Linked DNA regions of Homo sapiens: region 1 is linked to region 2. The links are contacts of gene promoters, found by promoter capture Hi-C in human tissues and cell types (Jung and others, 2019). All regions are on one chromosome and are shown on one strand. The core of a region is centred on a gene start or on the middle of the fragment in contact, and the rest is flanking DNA. Distances in the headings are between cores, read along the strand shown.

The links. The method cuts DNA at HindIII sites, captures the fragments that hold promoters and counts their contacts. A contact is called where the count stands out against the background at its distance.
Region 1: the fragment with the promoter of PYGM here is called in contact with the fragment with the promoter of STIP1 in region 2 in 1 of the 25 tissues and cell types used here (mesendoderm cells).

Annotation. Positions count from the first base shown.
Region 1 is chr11:64,758,678-64,763,374 of GRCh38, reverse strand. It overlaps PYGM (glycogen phosphorylase, muscle associated), which reads left to right and starts at 3,401. Exons shown (of 20, transcript NM_005609.4): 1 at 3,401-3,719; 2 at 4,671-4,697. The coding sequence starts at 3,477. RefSeq lists enhancers at 108-157, 1-260, 2,584-3,286, 3,287-3,991, 3,992-4,695 and 3 more. The HindIII fragment of the contact is 11,504 bases long and covers 1-4,697 here.
Region 2 is chr11:64,184,554-64,189,253 of GRCh38, reverse strand. It overlaps STIP1 (stress induced phosphoprotein 1), which reads right to left and starts at 3,083. Exons shown (of 14, transcript NM_006819.3): 1 at 2,984-3,083. The coding sequence starts at 2,992. It overlaps LOC124902686 (a long non-coding RNA gene), which reads left to right and starts at 3,573. Exons shown (of 2, transcript XR_007062712.1): 1 at 3,573-4,700. RefSeq lists silencers at 2,871-2,930, 3,631-3,770 and enhancers at 3,891-3,960, 4,584-4,700. The HindIII fragment of the contact is 11,787 bases long and covers 1-4,700 here.

The sequences.
Region 1 (4,697 bases), core at 2,152-4,651, 570 kb before region 2:
CCCCCAGGCCAGCTCCATTCCTGTGCTCCCTCCCTTTCTGCTCCCTGCCGTCAGCTTTTGTTAAGGTTTTGGAGAGGAAGTGGCTGACTAAGGCATCAGTCTCCAAGGTGCTAGAGGCCCTGAAATGGAAGAGACAGCAGGAAGGCTTGGCCCTCTGAACCGTGGCAAGCACTTGCCTCTGGCAGAATCAGAGAGAGAAAGGCCTGCCCACCTGTCTTAAGACACCTGGGGTGGGAAAGCAAGCCATTTACTCCATCACATTGTGACAGGGCTGTGCTTGCCCCACCCCCTCTCCTCACGTTCATTTCTGCTGCTGTAGCAGCACTGTCCCCGTCCCTCAAGGCCTGGCAAGGCCTGGCAAGAGGAATGCCAGTGGGGAAAGGTCAGCCTCAGGGCTCTGTTACTGAGGTTCAGCCAAGGGCTCTGGAGAAACCCAGGATTGGTCCAAGGAAGGAGGCCGGGTTTCTAGTTAGAAACTTAGACATAAATAACCTCGAGTGAGTTCAGGTTGTAAAAGTGCTTCAGGGTTCATTAAACCTGCATACACAACACCAAGGAGGGGCGGAGGAAGCAGGGAAACAGATGAGATCGTGCTGCCCAGGTGTGATCATGCTGGGCTGGGGCATGCAGTGTCACCCCGGGACAAAGCCTGGAAACAGTGGGGAGTGATGGCATGACAAAGACGGAAAGAAGCCACAGAAAAGGTAGTTGGAGAAAGTTAAAAATTTCCCAGTAAAAATGTTCCTGAGAGCAAGCGCCCTGGGTGCAAGAGGGGAGAGTAGCTGGGAAAGGATGGAATGAACTTGGCCTTCCCTGCCTGTAAGATGTGGATGGTCTATGGGGATCGGGTCCTCAGTGGCAGGAACATAAAGTCTTGCAGGAAATAGGGGTCAATGCAAAGAAGGTGTGTGTGGCCAAAGCAGGCTGCCACGATTGGGCTGTGAGGTGACGGCATGGTTAACAAGCTACTGCCTGCCTGGCAGTGGACTGCCAAGAAGTCTCAGCTCTACTCACAGCAACCCTCCAAGGGACAAGTGCGGGCTGTGAAGAACCTTGGATGCCAGGCCAAGCTGGAGTCCAAGCTGTGCTTAGTGGAGGATGGGGATGAGGCCCAGGAGCTGAGGCTGGGGTGCAAACTGTGAAAGGGGAAGAGACCAGACAGCTGCCAGCATTGTTTTTTTGTTTGTTTTTGAGACAGAGTCTCGCTGTGTCGCCCAGGCTGGTGTGCAGTGGCGTGATCTCGGCTCACTGCAACCTCTGCCTCCCGGGCTCAAGTGATTCTCCTGCCTCAGCCTCCCGAGTAGCTAGGATTACAGGCATGTGCCACCATGCTTGGCTAATATTTGTATTTTTAGTAGAGACGGGGTTTCGCCATGTTGATCAGGCTGGTCTCGAACTCCTGACCTCAGGTGATCCACCCACCTCGGCCTCAAAGTGCTAGGATTACAGGCGTGAGCCACCGCGCCCGGCCAGCATTGTTTTTTAATGGTTTATGAAACACTTCTTAAGAGAAATTGGAAATTAACAGAAAAATGTAAGGAAAAGTTGTTTGCATCCCCGTGTCTGTGGAGGTGTATTTTGGTGTTTTTTTCCCGATCTTTTTTCTCTACTTGGAAATGTGGCAGGCACCACAGAAGACAGTGTGCCCGTGCCTTTTGGGGGCAGGGGTAGAGCAGGGCTTGGGAGCCTGGAGACCTCTGTAGGACTTGAAGTTTGGCCCACATACTAAGCCGGTGATTCCAGGGCTGGGTCTGCCATGGCTCAGAAAGTGATCGGAGGCCGGGCGCTGTGGCTCATGCCTGTAATCCCAGCATTTTGGGAGGCCAAGGTGGGCGGATCACCTCAGGTCAGGAGTTCCAGACCAGCCTGGTCCAACATGGTGAAACCCCGTCTCTACTAAAAATACAAAACTTAGCTGGGCATGGTGGTGGGTGCCTGTAATCCCAGCTACTCAGGAGGCTGAGGCAGAATTGCTTGAGCCCAGGAGGCGGAGGTTGCAGTGAGCTGAGATCATGCCATTGCACTCTAGCCTGGGCGACAAGAATGAAACTCTACCTCAAAAAAAAAAAAAAAAAAGTTCTCAGAAACAGCTTGGCTTTCTCCGAACCAGGCTCTCAATAGTATCCTGCAGCTGTCCAGGCTTTTGACCTGCTTCCTTGGCCTTCAGAACAGAACACCCAGCTCTTCCCCTCCACCGGCCCACCACCCGGGAGGCCCAAACAGCCTTTGAACTAGCACAAGGTCCTGGTTCCTTTCTCTTAAAGAACAGCAGGATCCGAAGCCTGCCCTCACAAGATGAGGAGGCAGCAGCTGAGAGGCAGGGATTTTTTTTTTTCTCATTGGAGAGTCTAAATTTGGTGAAGGAATCCAAAGCTCAGAAAGGTAAAGCAACCAGCTTGAGGTCACACAGCAAGTCAGTGCTGGGGCCAGAACACAGCAGTGAATGGGAGGATAGCCAAAGCCTCCAGGGAAGGGCTCAAAGCTGTGGGGCTATGCACACAAATGGGGTGAGGTCCTCGAGGTACAGATTAGGCACCCATTTTATAGGCCAGGTCACAGAGCTGGTTTACAAAATCCTGCTCAGAGTGTGGCCCCAGGTGGCAGGAAGAAGTGAAAGAAGGCCTCTAATCACTTCCTAAGCAGTGGAATCACAGGGAGAACTTACTGTCATTAAACCAGTATGATGATGGAGTGGGGAATGCCTCAGTTTCTCCCACCGCCGAGGGCCTATAGGACTACAGTTCCCAGGGCCCCGTGCTGCAGGCTAGCGGCCTCCCGCCAATGCTGGCCAGTAACCTGAGCATCCCTCTCCAAAAGGTCACTTCAGGGCTCCTTGAGGGACAGCAACAGGGGGAGCCTAGAGCTGCTCAGCTTCGGTGGGGGTGGAGTGAGGGCTGTGGCCCTGCCTCACACAACCTCCCTCACACCACCCCTGCAATGCAGGGTCGTGGGCCCCTTTCTCAAAGACATCCAGTGGCCTCTGCTAGTTGCACCTCTTCCGTCAGGGGACACTGACTTGGCTCCTGCACCACAGCCTGCAGGGGGTCCTGGTTCCTTTTGCCACAACACATGGCCTCCCATCCTGGTTCAGCCACTGACAGACAGCTCCCCAATCCAGCACTCTGCCTGCTCCTTCTTGTATCCAACCCTCCAAAAGGCAGGGACAAGGGACAGAAGACCATGTGCAAGGCCTGGAGGAAGTGGGTCAGCACAGGCCTGTGAACAAGCCAGGCCAGTCTTGGCGGCCCAAGTGGAGCTCACCTCTCCCTCCCCTCTCCTCTCCTCCCCTTGCCCTCAAAATAGCTCCCTGAGCTGCCAGGCCAAGACCCTCCCATTGCAGGGGAGGCGGGGCGTGCTGCCCAGAGCCAGGCTTTAAATCCCCTTGAGGCTGGGGAGCTCCACTCCTTGGCTGGAGGCAGTGCTGAGGCCGCCGTCCCCTCTACCATCAGTCCAGTCCGGCCCGCCCTCCTGCAGCCATGTCCCGGCCCCTGTCAGACCAAGAGAAAAGAAAGCAAATCAGTGTGCGTGGCCTGGCCGGCGTGGAGAACGTGACTGAGCTGAAAAAGAACTTCAACCGGCACCTGCATTTCACACTCGTAAAGGACCGCAATGTGGCCACCCCACGAGACTACTACTTTGCTCTGGCCCATACCGTGCGCGACCACCTCGTGGGGCGCTGGATCCGCACGCAGCAGCACTACTATGAGAAGGACCCCAAGGTGCTGCTGGGGAGCCTGGGGTGGGGGTATGGGCTGAAGGCGCTGCCAGGGAGCTGGCGATCTTGACTTAAGTGGCTGCCCCTCGTCACTCTAGGTTCTTGGGGGTGGAGAATCCAGGGGTGCCAGGCACAAGGGGTGCTGGGACAATCTGAGGGAGAAACCTGGGGCAGGAGTGGGGGTCAGGGAGCTCAGAGCAGGTGGGCTGGCTGCAAAGGGTCAGTGCCCACTCGGAGAAGGTTGGAGTGGGTGCTGGTGGGCAGGACGGCGCCTGTGGCCTGGCTGGGCCCAGGTGGAAGGACACATCAGTTGCTGCATGTATGCGCGGTGTGCCTGTGCAGCAGGCGGGGCTGGGGCAGCTGGGGCGGCAGAGATCAAGTGTCCGGTGGGGTCACTGGTAAATGTCAGCAACCTGACACGCCTCGGTGGGGAGTGGGGGAGGGGCGGGCAGACGGCCCAGGAGGGGACCCAGGAAACTGGGAGACCAGGCACTGGCAGCATCCTAGTTTCTGGTGCCTCTGGGTCTCCTTGGGATTGAGGCTTGAGGGCCAAGGGGAACTGGACAGTGCAAGGATGGGAGGTGACAGTCTCTAGCCCAGTCTCTAGCCACTGTGTGACCTTGAGCAAATGACTTTTTTCTCTGGGGGTGTGTGCAGGGGGAAGGGGTGCCCATTCTCCCGAGTACCTCAGTCCCTGAAGTGGGTATGGCCAGCGCTATTTCCCAGATGAGGAGACTGAGGCCAAAGAGAGTGATTTGTCCAAAGTCAGAGGAATGCTGGGACCAGAACCTTAACCGCTGGGCCCCAAAGCCTGAGACAGGGAGAAACAAATTGGGGACAGGGATGGGACTGCTGAGCAGGGCAGGCGGGCCAGAGGTCCAGGCGTGGCTGGGCCTGGCTGAGTGTTGGTGTGTGGCCCTGACCCCATTCCCTGCCCATCCGTCTCTCTGGGCAGAGGATCTACTACCTGTCTTTAGAGTTC
Region 2 (4,700 bases), core at 1,834-4,333:
AAGTAGCCGGGACTACAGGCGCGTGCCACCACATCCAGCTAATTTTTGTATTTTTAATAGAGACAGGGTTTCACCATATTGGCCAGGCTGGTCTTGAGCTCCTGACCTCGTGATCCACCCGCCTCAACCTCCCAAAGTGTTGGGATTACAGGCGTGAGCCAGCACGCCCGGCCCAGTTTTTCTTTTTTCTTTTGTATTTTTACTAGAGACGGGGTTTCACCATGCTGGACAGGTTGGTCTCAAACTCCTGACCTCATGATCCGCCCACCTCGGCCTCCCAAAGTGCTGGGATTACAAGTGTGAGCCACTGCACCCGGCCCAACTTGAGTATTTTCTAAACTGAAATACAAACCTCACAGTTGAAAATGAAAACAAAAGGTAGAGAAATCGTGTTTGTTTTCAGGAATGGCTTCCAGATGGTGGGCTCAAACACACCTGGGATTAAATGCCAGGTCATCTGTACAGCTGCCATGCCAGTTTGCTGTCCTAAGTCAAATATTCATTCACCATCTACCTACCTGTACATACACTTCTATCACCAGTAGTGGTAATTTAAAAACAAACATTTTAAGACCAGGCAAGGTGACTCACGCCTGTAATCCTAGTGCTAATGAAGTGGGAGGCCAAGGCTAGAGGATTGCTTGAGCCTAGAAATTCGAGACCAGCCTGGGAAACAGCAAGAGCCCCGTCTCTACAAAAAATGTTAAAATTAGCCAGTTGTGGTGGTGTGCCCAGCTACTCAGGAGAGTGAGGCAGGAGGATCGCTTGAGGCCAGGAACTTGAGGCTGCAGTGAGCTATGATCCCACCAGGGCACTTCAGCCTGGGCCACAGAACCAGACCCTGTCTCTAAAAAAAATACAAAATAAATTTGGTAACAGAAATCGTTTCTTTTCTTTTTTTTTTTTTTTTGAGATGGAGTCTCACTCTGTCACCCAGGCTAGAGTGCAGTGGCGTGATCACAGCTCACTGCAACCTACGCCTCCCGGGTTGAAGCAATTCTCCTATCTCAGCCTCTCCAATAGCTGGGATTACAGGCCTGCGCCATGACCCGCTAATTTTTGTACTTTTAGTAGAGAGGGGGTTTCACCATGTTGGCCAGGCTGGTGTAGAACTCCTGACCTCAGGTGATTCGCCCACCTTGGCCTCCCAAAGTGCTAGGATTATAAGCGTGAGCCACTGCGCCCAGCCGAGATCCTTTTTTTTTTTTTTTTTTTTGAGACGGAGTCTCGCTCTGTGGCCCAGGCTGGAGGGAGACGGAGTCTCGCTCTATGGCCCAGGCTGGAGTGCAGTGGCGCAATCTCGGCTCACTGCAAGCTGCCCCCAGGGTTCACGTCATTCTCCTGCCTCAGCCTCCCGAGTAGCTGGGACTACAGGCTCCCGCCACCACGCCCGGCTAATTTTTCTTCTGTATTTTTAGTAGAGACGGGGTTTCACTGTGCTAGCCAGGATGGTCTCGATCTCCTGACCTCGTGATCCGCCTGCCTCGGCCTCCCAAAGTGCTGGGATTACAGGCTGAGCCACGGTGCCCGGCCCCAGATCCTTTCTTAAAGGTAAAAGAGCAACGTCTTATTCCAGAAATCTTTTCCTCACCTATACTACAGCCCATTTAACCCTAGATACAACTGAAATATTATATGGGCACAAAAAAGTTTACTAACTTCATTTCCACTCTTTTTAATACAGCAAGGAAGCTCGAGCTTTGCCTAAAGCAGCAACTGCTACAAGAGACCAAAGGCTCAGCTCTGTAGCTCACACCAAAAAAAGGATGGTAGTCACTAGTCCATCGAGATGTCTTATTTAAGGGGAGAGTGTGGGCGATCTTAGTTTTATGGCCCTGAAGTAAGAACCAGATACCAGGTATAGTTTCAGAATTGTCACCCCCAAGTGTTATGGGCCCGGAGCGAAGACAGTAGTACTCCCGAGCGGGAGGATGATTTCTCGGAGGTTGGTAGAGGTTTCTTGGAGGTTGTTTTGTCCTTTTTCTTCCGATGAATCATTACAGCTCAATGACAGCTTCAAATCGAACAAAACCTCTAGGCCTTTCATAACCGCAAGCTACTGAGGACATAACCAAGTCACTGAAAGGAAGCAGCAACCGCTTCAAACTCGGCCCCTCAAATGCTCAGTAGAGGCCCATAACTTCCAGCGGTTGATCTCTGTAAATTGTCTACAACCACCCCCGGGTCGTCAGAAACCCATCTTTCAGACCCACCTTTCGGAAGTGTTGGTCCTCGGTCACTCGACAATCACACACACAAGCATACAAAAAGAGGGGGAGGGGCCGCAATACATTTGTAAAACACTGTCAGAGATGGAATTCGTCCCAAGGACTTTTGCGGCACCCTTCCCTTTCCCGCATCAGGTAGAGTCGGTCTGTCGCTCCTCAGACCCCCGCTCAACGCTCTCCCACCCTGACCTTCTCAGATGTAGAAGAGTAACATTTGCCCCAACTGCATCCCAGGCTGCTAAGATCCTCGGCTACTCCCAGTGTATCCCCGTCCCCGCTCCCTGGATCCGTCCAAGTTCCTCGTGGCTAAGTCCCGAGCGGTTTCTCCGTCGGCCGTCTGAGATCTCCCGGAGGGCTACCTCGCGGGTGCGGACCCCGGCCCCCGGCCCACCTCCACCCCGCCCCCTGCGGCCCGCACCCTCCCCAACATGGCCCGCAGCCGCCCCCTCGGGACGCCTTCAGGGCCCGGTCGCGACCCCTCTTCCCGCCGCCGGCCGGACTCACCCAAGCTGTGGCCTCCGCCGGGCCCTCCTCGCCCAACCAGGGGGCGATGGGCGCTCCCCGCGGCCGGCCTCGCTAAAGATCCCGCTCCCGCCCGCCGCCCGCGGCCCTCACCTCCCCGCCGCCGCCCCGTCCGGCCCCAGCGCCGAGCTCCGGTCTCCTGGATCCGGCGCCCGCCCCGCCCCCCTACCGCGGCCTGGCCACCGCCGGTCCCCGAGCAGGCTCGGGGCCTCAGCCCGCCCCTCCCCCTTCACCTGCTCCATAGCGCAGCGCGGTCCGGAACCCCGTTGAATCGAATCCGTCCGCTCCGCGTTCCCAACCGCACGCGCCGCCTTCTGGAACCTACTAGAAGCTACCGGGACCCCGGCTCCCGCCCCTTCCTCGCCTGCTCACTGGTCGAGTTCTTCTAGGGGGAATGTCTGTGCTGCTCTACTATTGGCTTGAGGTCCAGCCCATCATCTCCACTTCCTTCTCATTGGACAGCGGGGAGTAATTCCCTCAACCCTGCCTCCCCCGCACCTCAGGATTGGGCGCTCCTCTATAAACCCACCCATCTCAGGCTCCACGAATGGAGGGAGGAGCGAACTTCTGCGACACGGATTGGTCTTTTGCACTGCCAATCGTAGCCGCGCTGGCCGCGCCCATTGGTTCTGATCGTTCTGGAAATTTCCACCTCTCCCATTGGGCTGCCGGACTCCATGTCGGAACCGCCTTCAGAATGAGAGCGATTCCAATTGGGCGGAGGGTTGCCAACTCTTTGCGCTGATTGGTTTAAATCGCTGCCCTTCAAAAGGCCGGGTTTCGCCCCGCCCCTGATATATGGGAGTACCGGCTGCAGTCGGGGTCTGTAGCTGTGTCGCCGGCGGCTGCGGGGCCTCTGGGTTGCTTTCCCTCTCGCTCCCGAGTGCCGCGAGTTCCAGGCGGTCCCCGGGATCGCCAGCGGCACAGGGCCCCAGCCCTTCGCCCGCGCATCGGGATGGGGGTCCTAGCCGGTGGGAGCTGCCTGTCCCTCGAGCGCCAGCTACCCGCGTTGTCCAGCGCTCCGGCCTCGGCCCGGCCCTCCTGCCTCCTGGCTGTTAGGTTCTGAATGTTCCGGAAATGCCACGTGACCGCGAGGGCGCTTGGGCTTGGGCTGGACAGGCCGGGGATCTCACCGCGGCGGGCCCGGCTGTCCCGCTTGGGCGTCCTCAGTGGAACCGCACACCCTTTCTCAGCGCGCCGGTCGTTTGGTCCTGTAGGGCCGAGGGGAATTCGTGCGGTGTTGAGCACGCGGGAAGCACTTAACGAAAGGGAGCTGCCCCTCAGCCCTCGTGAGTCCGATGTAAAGGAGTGAAGGAGACGAAGAACTGAATCAGTAGTTGACCGCCTGTGAGCTGGCGAGCTGTGCCCTGGTAGGGCCTTAAATCCCAGCCCCAGAAGTCGGAGGCAGGGCAGGCACCCCAAAGCGTGGAAGAGATGCACCTGCGGAGTGAAAATGCTGCTATTGCTTCTAGGGTCAGCCTTGGTTCCTGGAACAAAGGAGCCGCATGACTCGGGTCTGGCGATGATGTTGGGCTCTGCAGTGTCCTCATCCTTCCCCCTCTCTGGGTAATGATATCTTCCCAGGGTTTAAAGTGTGTCCTCTCTGCCAGTAGCTTGTCTCCACAGCCTCATCTTTAATTCCACCTGCCCCACCCATTTTGGACACTGCAGCCAAGTTGCAGCAGATCCGCAAACCTGGTAATCCCTCACTTGAAAGTGCTGGAGGCTTTAGGATGGGGTTCAGGGCCTGTGCAATCTAACCGCCTGCTTTTTTTTTTTTTTTTTTTTTTTTTTTTTTGAGACGGAGTCGAATCTCACTGTCTCCCAGGCTGGAGTGCAGTGGCGCCATCACAGCTCATTGCAGCCTCAACCTCCTGAGCTCAAGCCATCCTCCCACCTCAGCCTCCCAAGTACCTGGGGTTACAGGCAAGCACCATTACGCCTAGCTAA